Regions from separate parts of the Homo sapiens genome. Here all the other regions are linked to region 1. Evidence: promoter capture Hi-C in 16 types of primary human blood cells and fetal thymus (Javierre and others, 2016). All regions are on one chromosome and are shown on one strand. The core of a region is centred on a gene start or on the middle of the fragment in contact, and the rest is flanking DNA. Distances in the headings are between cores, read along the strand shown.

The links. The method cuts DNA at HindIII sites, captures the fragments that hold promoters and counts their contacts. A CHiCAGO score of 5 or more calls a contact.
Region 2: a contact is called between a fragment that was not itself captured here and the fragment with the promoter of SPINK7 in region 1, in 2 of 17 cell types (M0 macrophages and M2 macrophages). The highest score is 5.2, in M0 macrophages.
Region 3: a contact is called between a fragment that was not itself captured here and the fragment with the promoter of SPINK7 in region 1, in 3 of 17 cell types (M2 macrophages, endothelial precursors and M0 macrophages). The highest score is 5.9, in M2 macrophages.

What each region holds. Positions count from the first base shown.
Region 1 is chr5:148,310,373-148,314,877 of GRCh38, forward strand. SPINK7 (serine peptidase inhibitor Kazal type 7) reads left to right here and starts at 2,051. Exons shown (of 4, transcript NM_032566.3): 1 at 2,051-2,172; 2 at 3,002-3,027; 3 at 3,728-3,852. The coding sequence starts at 2,112. The region is part of intron 2 of FBXO38-DT (FBXO38 divergent transcript); the gene reads right to left. The HindIII fragment of the contact is 4,809 bases long and covers 1-3,405 here.
Region 2 is chr5:148,697,215-148,701,835 of GRCh38, forward strand. No RefSeq gene overlaps it. Among named protein-coding and RNA genes, the nearest start is that of HTR4, 45 kb to the left of the region's middle. The HindIII fragment of the contact is 1,950 bases long and covers 1,833-3,782 here.
Region 3 is chr5:148,721,746-148,726,314 of GRCh38, forward strand. No RefSeq gene overlaps it. Among named protein-coding and RNA genes, the nearest start is that of HTR4, 70 kb to the left of the region's middle. The HindIII fragment of the contact is 5,848 bases long and covers 1-4,569 here.

The sequences.
Region 1 (4,505 bases), core at 801-3,300:
CAGTAGGATATTAAGGATATTAATAGTTAAATTATTGAAAAATAAAAAAATTGTATGTTAATTTTTCAACTGTGGTGGTGTCAGCACCCCGGACGCCATGTTGTTCAAGAGTTGAATGTATAATGTGTGTGTGTGAGAGAGTGTGTGTCTGTAAAATCTAATTTAACACTCAAAACAACCTATGAGGTAAATATTATTTCTGTCATAAGGATGAAGACACTAAAGTATCAGATGTTAACCTAAATACTAAAAGACACACAGTCAACATTTTTTAGAAGAAAGATTCTAAATGGGATCTACTCAATGCCCATGCTCTTAACTACTAGATTACATTGCCTCCCAAACAGATATAGGAGTAAAATATTAGAGATTATGCAATATCATTTATTAGTCACTTAATATGTCTTGTAGATGCTAGTTTTAGAATGTACTAAAATAAACCTGCCAAGCAGTAAACTAGTGGGACAGTCTACTGCCTTCCCCCAGGTCTTCATACATATGTCCTTAAACTCAATAAGCAAACTGCAGCTATTTGGACAGTTGTGCATGGACAATACAGTTTACAATCTAATGTCAGCAACTCATAGCATTAACTCTTGGTTTGTAAATAATAATAACAATCACAATAATATTATTAAATGCACTGTGCTTTAGAGCAGACTTTTATGTATATGATTCCAATTATGTGAACTCTATTGTGGCTAACAACAGGCCCTATTGGACTGGGATGAAACTCAGTCTCTGGGATGGTCTCTGTTGTTTGCCAACTATTCTAGTTCTTCATCCAACCTTCAGGTCAGGGAACAGGTCAGGACAAGGTAAGACTGTGTATTAATCTGTTTTCAAGCTGCTGATAAAGACATACCCAAGATTGGGTAATTTATAAAGAAAAAGAAGTTTAATGGGCTCACAGTTCCACATGGCTGAAGAGGCCTCACAATCATGGCAGAAAGTGAATGGCATGTCTTACATGGCAGCAGGCAAGAGAGAATGAGAGCCAAGTGCAAGGGGAAACCCCTTATAAAACCATCAGATCTTGTGAGACTTATTCACTTCCATGAGAACAGTATGGGGGAAACTGCCTCCATGATTCAATTATCTCCCACCAGGTCCCTCCCACAACATATGGGAATTATGGGAGCTACAATTCAAGATGGGATTTGGGTGGAGACACAGCTAAACCACATCAGATTGATTGCACTCACTCCATACATAACAAAGCATGTGATGGCCACGAGACCATGAGGGGAAGTGACAGCAGTATTGCTCTGGGCTGGAAGTTTTAATTGCTAAAATGAGAACTCCTTGAGAACGAACTCAACTTCACTTCACCTTGACTACAGTGTTCCAAATAGTGATGACTCTGCCCACTTGGCATCCACAGTGAAGGCAATGTAGCATGAACAGCTGACTACCATACAAGTGTAGCTTGAGTAAGAAACAAAGTTTTGTTTTAATTCACAGAAATCTTGTGGTTACATGTTATCACGACATAACCAAGCCTTTTGGATTGATAAAGGCTCACAGCATATAACGACTTATCCAAGATTATACAGGTAGAAAATATCAGAAGTATTATGTTAGTGCTTTTCTCCATACCTCATAAATGCTAATGTCAGTGTTCCTTCCATTAGGTCCCAGTTTGCTTCATTGGTTCATTGCCTCAAAAATAAACAATATTTCCCCAGGTGCCAAGATATAAACGTAGGTGTAATCAGTCTAATCGGGGTTTAATAGATTCCAGTTTCGTAAAATAAAGGAGGTTTGAGATTTTCACTTATTTCATAACTAAGTCAAGAAGCTCATACTTAGTCTCTTCTAGTTCATGAAGTTTAGAATTCTTAACAGTCCCACCTTTGGGGAAGATAGAAAATACTTCTTACCTCAAATAATCAAATCATTGGTCAGATAAGAAGTGGCAGTTCAGTAACAAGGACTGTAACACAGCCCAGGGTGTGGCACCGTGCTTTGAGATCCTCTGGATGACCTCACAGGAAAGGCGGAGAAACCAAGCCTTGCATATATATAAACATGACCCCTTACCTGGGATATGGTCGATGCAGCTGTAGTGACAATCTCAGAGCAGCTTCTACACCACAGCCATTTCCAGCATGAAGATCACTGGGGGTCTCCTTCTGCTCTGTACAGTGGTCTATTTCTGTAGCAGCTCAGGTAAGTTAAGGTCAGACAGTGCCCTATATAGCCATTAAGATTGTTTTCATAAATAATCCCTCCTGCGATGTGAGCATCTCAGAAACATCTGGTTGTAAGAATTTAAAGTGTACTGGTTTGTAATAGGATCTTATGTTCCATCTGGAGTTTGAGAGACTTGAGTCCAATGTCTTCACTTTCAAGGATTCTTATTTGCATCCATAGAACAAAAAATGATCTAATTTCTCTGTAAGTCTTCCATTTCTATGTTCATATGGACACTGGAAGTTGTCAGTGTTATTAGATATACCATTTCTTAGTGCAAAGATACAGAAAAACTTGGATGTCTTCCCAAATCAGTTTGGGGGGATTAAAATAAAACACAAGTCTCAAAAAGCCAAGGGTCAACAATTAGACTTTTATACTGTGAAAAATTAATTAAAGTGTTTCCAACCACATAAAGACATTCAATTGCATTTCTTTATGTCAATTGGGAAGGAAAGGATATCAGAGATGATCCTTCAGGCTCTTAGGAGTGATGATTTTAATACTTCTTATTGCTACTTGACTTTGGCCATTATCAAAAACACTATGAGGTTCAGAAAACATTCCATGATCAATAAATAGAGGAAATTTTTATAATTCTCTTACCTAAACCAAGGGTTAACCTAACCCATTGGCCATTCAACTTCCTCAGCAAACAACTAGGATTTTGCATAAGGATGGAGAGTGTGCTGAATCTCATTGCTAAAGGAAATGTAGAGTAATTATATAGGATGAAACTTATATTAATTAATGAGATTTAAAGTTTGCTTTACTTTTAACATCTTCATCTGTATCTCTTTTTCAGAAGCTGCTAGTCTGTCTCCAAAAAAAGTAAGTATGTTGAATAACATTTTAATGTCAATAACTATTGACTGTCATTTAGTCAACATATATGTAGGATAAATTATGTTTAGGGGGATTCGAGAGGGAGGCAAACACACATGGAGAAATGGTACCTGTTCTCCAGAAGGCAACTAAACAAATATGACATACATATAAACAACCATATTTTAAAAATGTTTTTTAAAAATGCCAGAGTTAAAGAAGGGAGAACCGCCTTCCAGCTGAGAAGTTGGTGATGTTTTCATAAAAGGCATAACGTGTAAAAGGCAGAGCAAAAGTACCCTGATAAATTGCACAGGCTCTAGATTCAAATCCTAACTCTACTACTTACCAGCATTTATCTTCAACAAGTTATCTCTATTTCTAAGCTTTAATTTTCACATTTGTAAAGAGAGGTAATAGTAGAATTTACTCTAGTTGTTCTGAAGATTAAACAAGAAAATTCATGCAAGATTTAAGTTTAACGCCTAGCCCAGAAATGCCCAGCAATTGTTAACTGAGTGTAGCAGAAAAAAATAGAATACCAGTAGTGCTAGTATTTGTCATAGTGATAACACTAGTACTTAAAGAAGTGGCCAAGCAACATCTGAATATCTGAGCTGGGACTTCCAGCCCTTGTAGTATATCTAATAGTGGCCTAGCTTGGGGTCTGGGAGAAAAACAGGACATTTGCTTGTATATGACACAGGTGGACTGCAGCATTTACAAGAAGTATCCAGTGGTGGCCATCCCCTGCCCCATCACATACCTACCAGTTTGTGGTTCTGACTACATCACCTATGGGAATGAATGTCACTTGTGTACCGAGAGCTTGTGAGTACCTCATAAGAAGAAAATGAGATCTGGAGTCAGTGCTCTCTACTACAAACGCTTCTACTTTCCAGGATCCAGCTTAAATCTCTATAAGCTGTAATTTATAATTATTCCCACCCAGAACAGCAGGTGGGGATAGAAAACTGACTGTTGCACAATCAGACAGGGTAGAGTCACCTGCTCTGCCAGCTTGGACTAGTCCCATCCCATCACAGAACCTCCAGTTCCTGTCTGTCAATTGTGAGAATCCAGTAAGGCTGTGGATTCTCAAACTGCTGTCCCCAGAGCACAGAGGTTCTATAGAGGCAAGTCAGGAGTCACCATTAGGGTTAAAGGGACTATTTGGGGTAGTTGACAACATAAAGTTCAGCTTTGACTATTTTAAGTAGTGGAGTGCCATACAATATCATGCTTGAAGAAAGGGCCCTGAATCCCCACCCCCCATAAAATAATTGAAAACTACTACACTACCTGACTTAGATTCTAAGATAATTAACATCCTCACTGCAGCTTGATTCTTAGACAAAGTGTCCCTAGAGGTTCTTTATCTTCGAATTTCTAGAGGCTCTAAGTATCTGTAGCTTTAAGGGGGGAATAAGGCTACAAAAATGATTACTTTTCCTTTATCTAAAATAAGGGATGCAAGCTGTCAG
Region 2 (4,621 bases), core at 1,558-4,057, 390 kb after region 1:
CAAAACTCATTTTTACCCCAACTTGTTTCTTATACTCAGCAAAGAAGCTGACAGTGAAATCCATTAGCTTAGTCCAGAGGGACTCCCAGGGCTACTAAACTTCATCTCCTTACAGATATTCCAACGATGCCAGGGACAAAGGCTTCCCCTTCTGAAAGGAAACCTAAGAGCCAGCTTTCTCCCTCTGCCTTCCAGATGGCATTACACATGTCGATTAGAAATGTTCAGGAAGTGCTTTCTCTTTGCAACCAAGAGAAACATTTTCCTTCTTTGGAGCTTGCTCCCACTTTCTTTCCTTCCTTAAATGGAATCTGATGTGTTTTTTCCCAAATTATCCATGACTGATCCCTTGCACTGTTTGTGCTCTTGGTAGATACTCTGCAGTAGGAAGATAAGGATGGGGCTGAGTGACGTATATTTCTCTACTGGTTTCCTTAGCAATGCCTCAGCAAGCCTCCAGCTCCCCTACAAACCTCCTTCTGAGTCAGCCTGTTTCGGCTATAGTCCAGGCTCTGCCAGCACATCACTGTTAAAACAGTAATAACTTTTTTTCCTCCACGGCACTTTACAATGTATGACAATCTTTCGCAGTCTTTATTTCATTTTATTTTTATAGCATGATCTCACAGAGAAGATATTATCAATATCAGCATTTTATAGGTAAATAAATTGAAACTCACAAACGTTTAATAACTTGCCTAAATTTCATAGCAATAAGTCAATGGTCAGAAAAAGGAGCTCATGGAGTTTGTTCCTCTGGCAATAGTGGCCACTGAGTCACAACGAGACTTTCCCATATGCTCTGAAGACTTCAGTTAGGGGTTACTCCATCCAATGATGAAATAGGGGGAAGATCTTCCTGGTAAATTAAGATATGCTTAAGATTTATTGACATAAAGTTCAGTTCATGAACAGTGATAATAAAAATATTCTTAATTCAGCCACTAGCTTCTCCCAGGGAGCATTAGTGGTTAAAATACAATAGTTTTTATAGTGTCTATCATATAATAGTTGTACTATGAATTCATCACAGGTGTGCCCTACGATCGACCAATGTATAAAATTCATTTTGTCTTAACCGTTGATACATACAACTGTTCCACGGTGTTCACTATAAAACACTTATGGCAAAGTTTGTTAGGTATAGCACTGAGTTGAGTGGATCATCAAAATGCTGTAGAGTTGGTATAATTTATTTTGAATAATTGATATAGATTAATATCAAGCTGGCATCTAAGAAAGAGTACACATCTCCTGCACATGGCCATATGTATGTATGTATAACAGGGGTTGCACAGGGCAGTCAGAGCTTTCCTCAAGGAGCCCCACAGTGCTGATGGATTATACATTTTTATAGCATACAACTATAGATGTTTCTATAGAATCTTCAAGATACCTGTGTATGAGATTAGTATTTGCATTGTAATTATCTTTTCCTGTTCTTGAATCTCTTACTGTCTTGAGGGGAACTCTAAATTTCTAGTGTATGAATGTGAACTACGCACAGAAAGAACCTGAGATATCTTGTTCTAATTTCTATTTCTGACAAAATAAAAATTAATATTTAAGATATTTGATTTCAAAAAGTTTTTTAAAGGCTACTGAAAAAGAATTAAAAGGGCATAGAGTTAGACTGTCCATCTAAATTTAAGACTCTATCTGTAAGAAGATATTTCATCTACCCCACTTGACCCATTGACACAAGGCAGTCTGACTTTTCTATCGCACACTACTCTATTTCTAAAAATATTATTCTAGAGTCTTATTTAGGATTAGTATAAGTGGACTTCAGTTCACAGAGTCCCCCTTTCTTTTGTGGGCAGAAGATCACAAGCTTCTACGTGTATCAGTCCATCCAATACCTCCTGAAGCTCCACATTCTTAGTATTTTCCTTTATATTAATTAATAGTCTGCCTTATTATAGCTTTCAGAAGACACAATTAAGCAAAAATGATTGAGAGAATCTTGGGTTTTGAAGCTAGATAGCTTAATTTAAATACCAGCTGTGCCACTTCCTGTTTCTGCAACTTTAGATGAATTACTTAACGCTTTGGGGTGTCAGCATCCCAATCAATAAACAAGGGAGAAAAATAATAATAATACCCACCTCGTCTGACTGTGATAAGGATTCCTTGAAATAACACATATAATGTTCTTATGGCACAGTGTTTGTCACATAGCAGTTATATCATTAACTGTAACTACTATTGATATTCTATACACTAGTCTTATCAGACATGGTCTTATGGAGAAATGTGAAATAGATGAGTGAGCTCTTTCACATGTGAGCCTTTTCCTGTATTGGGAAACTGCTCTCAATGACATCCATGTGTTCTCTTAAGTTAACTAAGCACAAGTAATATTTTAAAGACGAGTGTATTAGTCTGTTTTCACGCTGCTGATAAAGACATACCCGAGACTGGGAAGAAAGAGGTTTAACTGGACTTACAGTTCCACATGGCTGGAGAGGCCTCAGAAAGGCATTTCTTACATCGTGGCAGCAAGAGAAAAATGAGGAGAAAGCAAAAGCGGAAACCCCTGATAAACCCAACAGATTTCATGAGACTTATTCACTACCGTGAAAATAGCATGGGAAAGACTGGCCCCTATGACTCAATTACCTCCCCCTGGGTCCCTCCCACAATACATGGGAATTCTGGGAGATACAATTCAAGTTGAGATTGGGTGGGGACACAGCCAAACCATATCAACAAGACAATCCACTCCTGTCCCCACAAAGTTAATTAAAAGGTAACAATGCCCACCGCTTATACAAGTGATAAGATTTGGGCTCTAAATAAGTCTGTAAGAGACTTACAAAAGGTGGCATAGCATAGCAGTGGAGCAAATAGCCAGCTAGGATTCCTAAGAAATAGATTTTACTTGTTCTGTGCTCTTGGGTAAGTCATTTGACTACTACAATATCTTCAATTGCAGAAAGGAGGAAATGGGACAAATGTCACAACACTATTGTGACAATTAAGGAGATACACAAAAAATACTATGAGGAGGACAGTGTTCAGCACATATAGGCATTCGATTAGTATGGGTTGATTTTATTTCTAGGCCCCAGACATTCTGACACCCAATTAGTATTTTCACTTGAGATAGTTAGCTATAGCCTTTCAGATGATGGTTATGATGGCTTCTTCGACTAGTCCCTCTGCTTCCAGTCCATCCCTGAAGATCACATGCTCAGAAGTTAAGAGAAGGATATTAAAAGAATAATAATTATATGTCAAAATCTATAGGAAATGGTTAAAACAATATTTGGAAAAAAATTTAGAGCTTTACTTGTCTTTATTCTTAATAAAATAAAAGAACATTCACTATGTTCCCACATCATATAAGATAAGAAAATTAGTTTTTGAAAAACTACAGAAGAATTGGAAACTATAAACATGATAAAATAAACAAGGTGATTACATAACAGAGAAAACTAAAACAAGTAATTAATATAACCAAAGATTACTACTTGAAAAAGACTAAGAAATGTCCAAAAAACAGCAAAATCTAATTTAAAAAACTAATAAAAATATAAATAAGACAGAAAATAGAGCAACAGGATAATAGAAAAATTGTACGAAGAAACATTTGGCACAGTTAAATGCTAATATATTTTAAATTCTGTGTGAAATATATTATTTTCTCAAAGCAAGGGAATTAACATTTACTAGCTACTGACTTTGTCTCAGTGCTGAGTGCTTTATACACATCCTTTTTTTGTTGGTATAATAAGCCATTTTATAAATATTTTTCCTCCTTTTATAGCAGAAACTGAAGCTTACAGAGATGAAGGTGTATGTCCAAGGTCACCCAGCTACTAAGAGGTGCAGCTGGAATTTAAATTCAGATCTACAAGGCCTATGCTATTTTTATTTTTCCAAGTGAAAACCCTAAAAATATAAAACATCAGAATGGTCATAAAAGGAAGAGGAAATTTGAATATACAGCACTAAAAAGTGTTCATACACCATTATTAAAATAAGACTTGAACATTCTTGTTTAGATCAAAATTTCTCCAAACTTTCAAATAGCAAAAAGTAACCTAACTACCCATTTCATTTCTTGAAAGAGAAAATAATAGCAAATTTCCTACTACGAAAGAAAAAAGTGGTCTTAATCCTAATTGTTATTAAAGTATGAACACACACACAACTATAGTGAGCTTTCCTCTTATAGATACAAAGATTTTAATAAAAATAAAAAATTGAATAAAGCAATCAAATAAAACTTATTCCATGCTACAAGAATACGGCATGCTGTAAGAATACAATATATTCTATTTCTTTCTAAAAGGAAAACATACTCTGTTTAATCTTTCTATTTCGAAAGCTTATTCATGACAAAATCACATCAACAAAAGCAATAAGTCACTTGAAAGAATCTGGGGCCCATTTCTAATGTTTTGAAGGTTTAAAAATAGGAAGGCAACATGACAGCATGAGGAGCTTCACAGATCTGCAACATCAGAAGCTAAGCACTGTGGGGAAGAGAAATAGACTTCACTAAAATAATCCAGCTAGTCACTAAGCAAATAGTAATAAAAAGCCACAAGGGAGGAAGATTAGAATCCATAGTTTCTACAATATATTATCTAAAATATTTAGTTTCCAACCC
Region 3 (4,569 bases), core at 891-3,390, 410 kb after region 1:
ATGGATGAGTGGGAAAAAATAATAAAAATAAAAATAAACCACAAGGGTGTTCAATGAAACAAAAATTTAAACAATCTAAATATTCAAAACAATGGGATTTGTCAAGTAAACCAAGAAATATGCATTCAACAAAGTACTATATGCTATTAAAAAAGAACTTTACGCCTGGATAGTTAATTACATAGAAAGATTTTTAAAAATTGTTCTGGCAAATGTGAGTTAGTAAATGGTATATGCAATATGTTTCCTTTTATATATATGCAATAATAGAAGATTTGGGTTTTTTAAATTTTTGTTTATGTTTATACTCAAATTTTCTACATCAAATGTATATGACTTTAGATGTGTATGAATTTCATACTAAGAAAATAAACAATAAAATTTTCTTTTTTAATGAGTCACCCTCCTAAAGCCAAGTGAAACAGATGAGATTACCAACTGCAGAAGTAATTAGCTCTAAGAATATGTTGCTGATTAGACTAGGATGTCTCTCACATATGATAGAAGAGATTAAAATACAACCTAAGCAATCTATGATATGTAGTTTTGTGATAGCCCAACAAAACTGGTCTAGAAAAGTGGAAAATTCTGATTTAAAATGATCAGTATGACTTTCACCCTTGTCAGAGAGTGAGGCAGAATTTTACTTAGGCAAAAGATGGCCAAATATCCAAATGTTCCACTTTGGTGTTTAACAATACCAGGTTCCTTTTATTTTAATCCTGTACTGACCAAGCTATCTTCTGTCTGGATTTTTCTCTTTCATCAATAAGCAAAACCTCACGTCATGACACATGTTATTTGTCCTGACTGGTAGAATTCCTACTGAACCTGTCAAGGAAAGAATTCTGGTCTACAAGCCAGTTTTTGGGGAAATGTAATCAGTGTCATTATGTTTGTCAAGCTCATTTTCAATTAAGAATGAGGTAATCTCATCAAGTAGGGGACAGCCAACTGGCTTCTTTCTCTTTATTAACATTTCCACTTTCTTCTATACTTATAAAATTTCCAGTGAAACTAGATATGTTGGCCAACGGTTGTAAAATTTCATTCTTGAGATCTTTAAAACCCATGGGTAGGTATTGCCTCTACTCAGTAATTTCATTAAAATGTTTGATTTAGTACTACAGAAAGGAAAATTAGACATGTGACTTTTCCATATTCTAACCATACTTCTACCTAGTATTTCAGTGATAAATCTCCTTTACTAATGCCACAGTGCCTGGGCACATATTGCACAGCCACATTATTGTGCCTTTATTCAGACTCTTCCTTAAGTCTTGAACCCTTCTCCTACCACATGTTAAAATCCTTCTCAACTACCAACTCCCAGATGGAAAAATAAGTTCTCTGGCCCATACCACTAAACCCTAGAACTCTGGATCATATTAAGTAAGAATGTAAACTCAATACAAGCCTGTAGTTTATTTTGTTTATTTCTGTACATATATTGCTTATTTAAAAGTGTTTTTGTGTTAGTAGGAAATGCAAATTGCAAGAATTAGTGTAATTGTCTTATTTCTAGTTTCTCTCCTCACTAGACTGAATGCTTATTGGAAACAGACAAGAACAGTGTTCATCAGAATCTCTGATGGTATTGCACAACATGCATGTTTAGCTTTTTATGCTGATAGTTTTCAAACATATAACTAGTAGAGATAATGGCTGCAGCTCAAATAACTCAGTTTCTATTTTAACTGGCTTTTTCATATTCAACAACAAAAATTTTGAGCAATTCAAAAATGCACTTATGCATGAACCAAAGATAGAGTGATCTCATGATATAAAATCAAATTTCTATCCTGAGTGTTACATCCCTCACTTAAAAGCTAAAAACTTTCAATGTTTTCAAGTCCAGGTCCTAATTTAATAGATAGAGTCAATTAAACCTCTCAAAATGTCACTTGGAGAATGGAATTCGCAAGATAACACTTCTTGCTGAAGCATAATACATCAGTATCAGAAATATAACTTGCACTAGTATTCAACATTTGTTTAAAAAATGCCATATTCTGAGGCTTTTCATTATGATAGCTGAGCTCGCTGCATTTTTTCCCCAAGAAAAGTAAAAAACGTGACAGAGAGAAGCACCCAGACTGTGCCAGGACATACTTACTCAAGAATGTCTTCTAAAAGAAAAGTGAAATGAATAGAAAAGTAAGTCTATGCCTCCAGATACCCCTACATCATGAAACCACAAAGCAATTCTGGCTCAAGACCACTCGTGAAGTATTTTGACATTTGCTCCTTCTCCGGAAAACAGAAAAGTATTTTTGAAGTTATAATACACTTCTGCAGTTCAACAAGGAATAACAGAATCTCATAGTTGAAAATATCATGAACAATTTGACCTGGGGCCAGGAAGATAGGAAATGTAAGGCAGGAATGGCCAATAAAGAGAAGCATCCTAGGCCCGGTGAGGAGTTGGTCCCCCAGAATTGGGCAGAAGGCTTGCAGCTAATTCAATCCAGCCTTGGCAGGCTCAGATAGCCAAGGACAGCATGAGCGTGTGCACAGCAGCTATTCTGCGTCATGAGAATGGTAGCATCACAGTCTCAAGTTGCTCTATTAAGTTTGAAGCACAACTCCAGTAGGATCAAATAAGCCAAATGTATGAGGAATCAGGGTCACAGACAGATTAGAACTCACTGCCAGGCTCCGTATCTGGTAGAGTTGCAGTAACAAGCTCAGAAAAGCAAGGCACAAATGAAGTCCTGATGACTTGAAATTCATGACCCACGTGAACAAGAAATGCCCATTGACATTATTCACTTTGGCACAAGGTAGCAAAACCACTTACAGCCCACACAGCTGGTGAGGATGGAGTTCCTGTTACACTGAGAGGCTAGAACTGAGGCAGGTATTGGGAATAGATGTAGTTGTGAGCAAGTCCTAAAATCAGGGAAACCCAGAGTAATAATAGCTAACATCTACTGAGGGTCTACTATGTGCCAGACTTTGCACTGGATCTTTATATGAATTATCTTTTACTATTATCATTACCACCACTAACTATGAAGCATTTACTGAACATATGTTATGTGCCAAGTATTTTTCTATGTATTTTATCTGCATTATCTAATTTAGTCCTTACAACAACTGTATGTGCTAAATATTTCGTATTTCAATTCTTACATAAAGAAATTCTGAAAAATAACTGACTAACTTGTCCCTGATTCAATACCTTGCTCCCAGGTCACACAGATGAACAAGTGACAGAGCTGGGATTTTAATCCAGGCATCCTGAATCTGGAGTCCCAATCACTGCCTCATGATCTCATTGAACCCCTAGGAGTAGCTCTTGCTATATGCAATTTACAGTTGATGAAATAGACTCATTGAGGCTGCATGATTTGCCAAGGACATCAAGAACCTTCTGGTGTCCTCATTTAATCAACCCAGAAGGATCTTGCCTTGGATCACCCATTAAGAAAGTGCCAAGGGCACAGTGAATTTGTGTGTTCCCATCTCAAAGGTAAGGATGGGCTACTTACACTAAACGGTTTCCTCATCTGCTGCACAAGTCTCTCAGTTTTTGCCTCTGGTTACCTCTTTCATTTTCTGGCCATCTCATAAAATCTAGAATACAACTTTTTTCTGTCATTCTTCCTTTCTTCTCTCTCTTCATTCCTAGCAAGTGAATCTCACCACATATAAATCTTAATCCAGAGAGATACTCCCTGAAACTCAGTGAAGTCAGCCTGGGAGGTTTCAGGAAGACAGTAAGGGCAAATGAATCTCTAAATTACTTGTATTAATCAAATTCCTCCTAAATTTCCTCACTTCATTGTTTTCCCACATGACCACACCGGCTTAGAGCCAGATCCTTTCCTTAGCACAATTCGTGACACCTGATAGTCTTAAGAGTTGCTTGATCTAAGACAATAAGTTACTGCTCTGCTGTAGAAAACCGGGTAGCATTTAACTGGTGGAAAGAAAAAGGGGTGGGCAGTAGTGAGCCGGAACTATTTATGAAGCTCCAAATTGGACTTGACATGGCTGGAAGAAGGCAGGAAGAAAAGAGGGCAGAAAGCACAGGAAGAAGAGTCACCATAGTTTTCATGTGAATAAATATTAGAGCAGCTCGCTAAGGACACAGGTGATTACTTCCGTCATTTCTCAGCATATAGACCAGCAGGTGCAGATAAGGAGCATGTCCCTGTGGGAGGCTCAAGGTGCTGCAGTGGAAGTACTAGCATTTTGCAAATAGCCCGGAGTATGCAGGATGCTGGGCATGCATCACCTCATGTCGTTCTCACAAGAGCACTGCCAAAGTGGCTCCTAAATAAAAATGACACAAACGGCTATACACTGAGAAGTAACTTTCCTGTCTTTGTCCCTGTCTAACGCCATTCCCGTGCTTAACCTTTAATGGGAGCCATTTGATTTGTCCCTCATTTATCCCTCTGATTTTTTTTTTTTTTTTTGAGACAGAGTTTCACTCTTGTTGCCCAGGTTAGAGTGCGATGGCATGATCTTGGCTCACCACAACCTCCGCCCCCGAGGTTCAAGTGATTCTCCTGCCTCAGCCTCCCGAGTAGCTGGGACTACAGGCATAAGCCACCACGC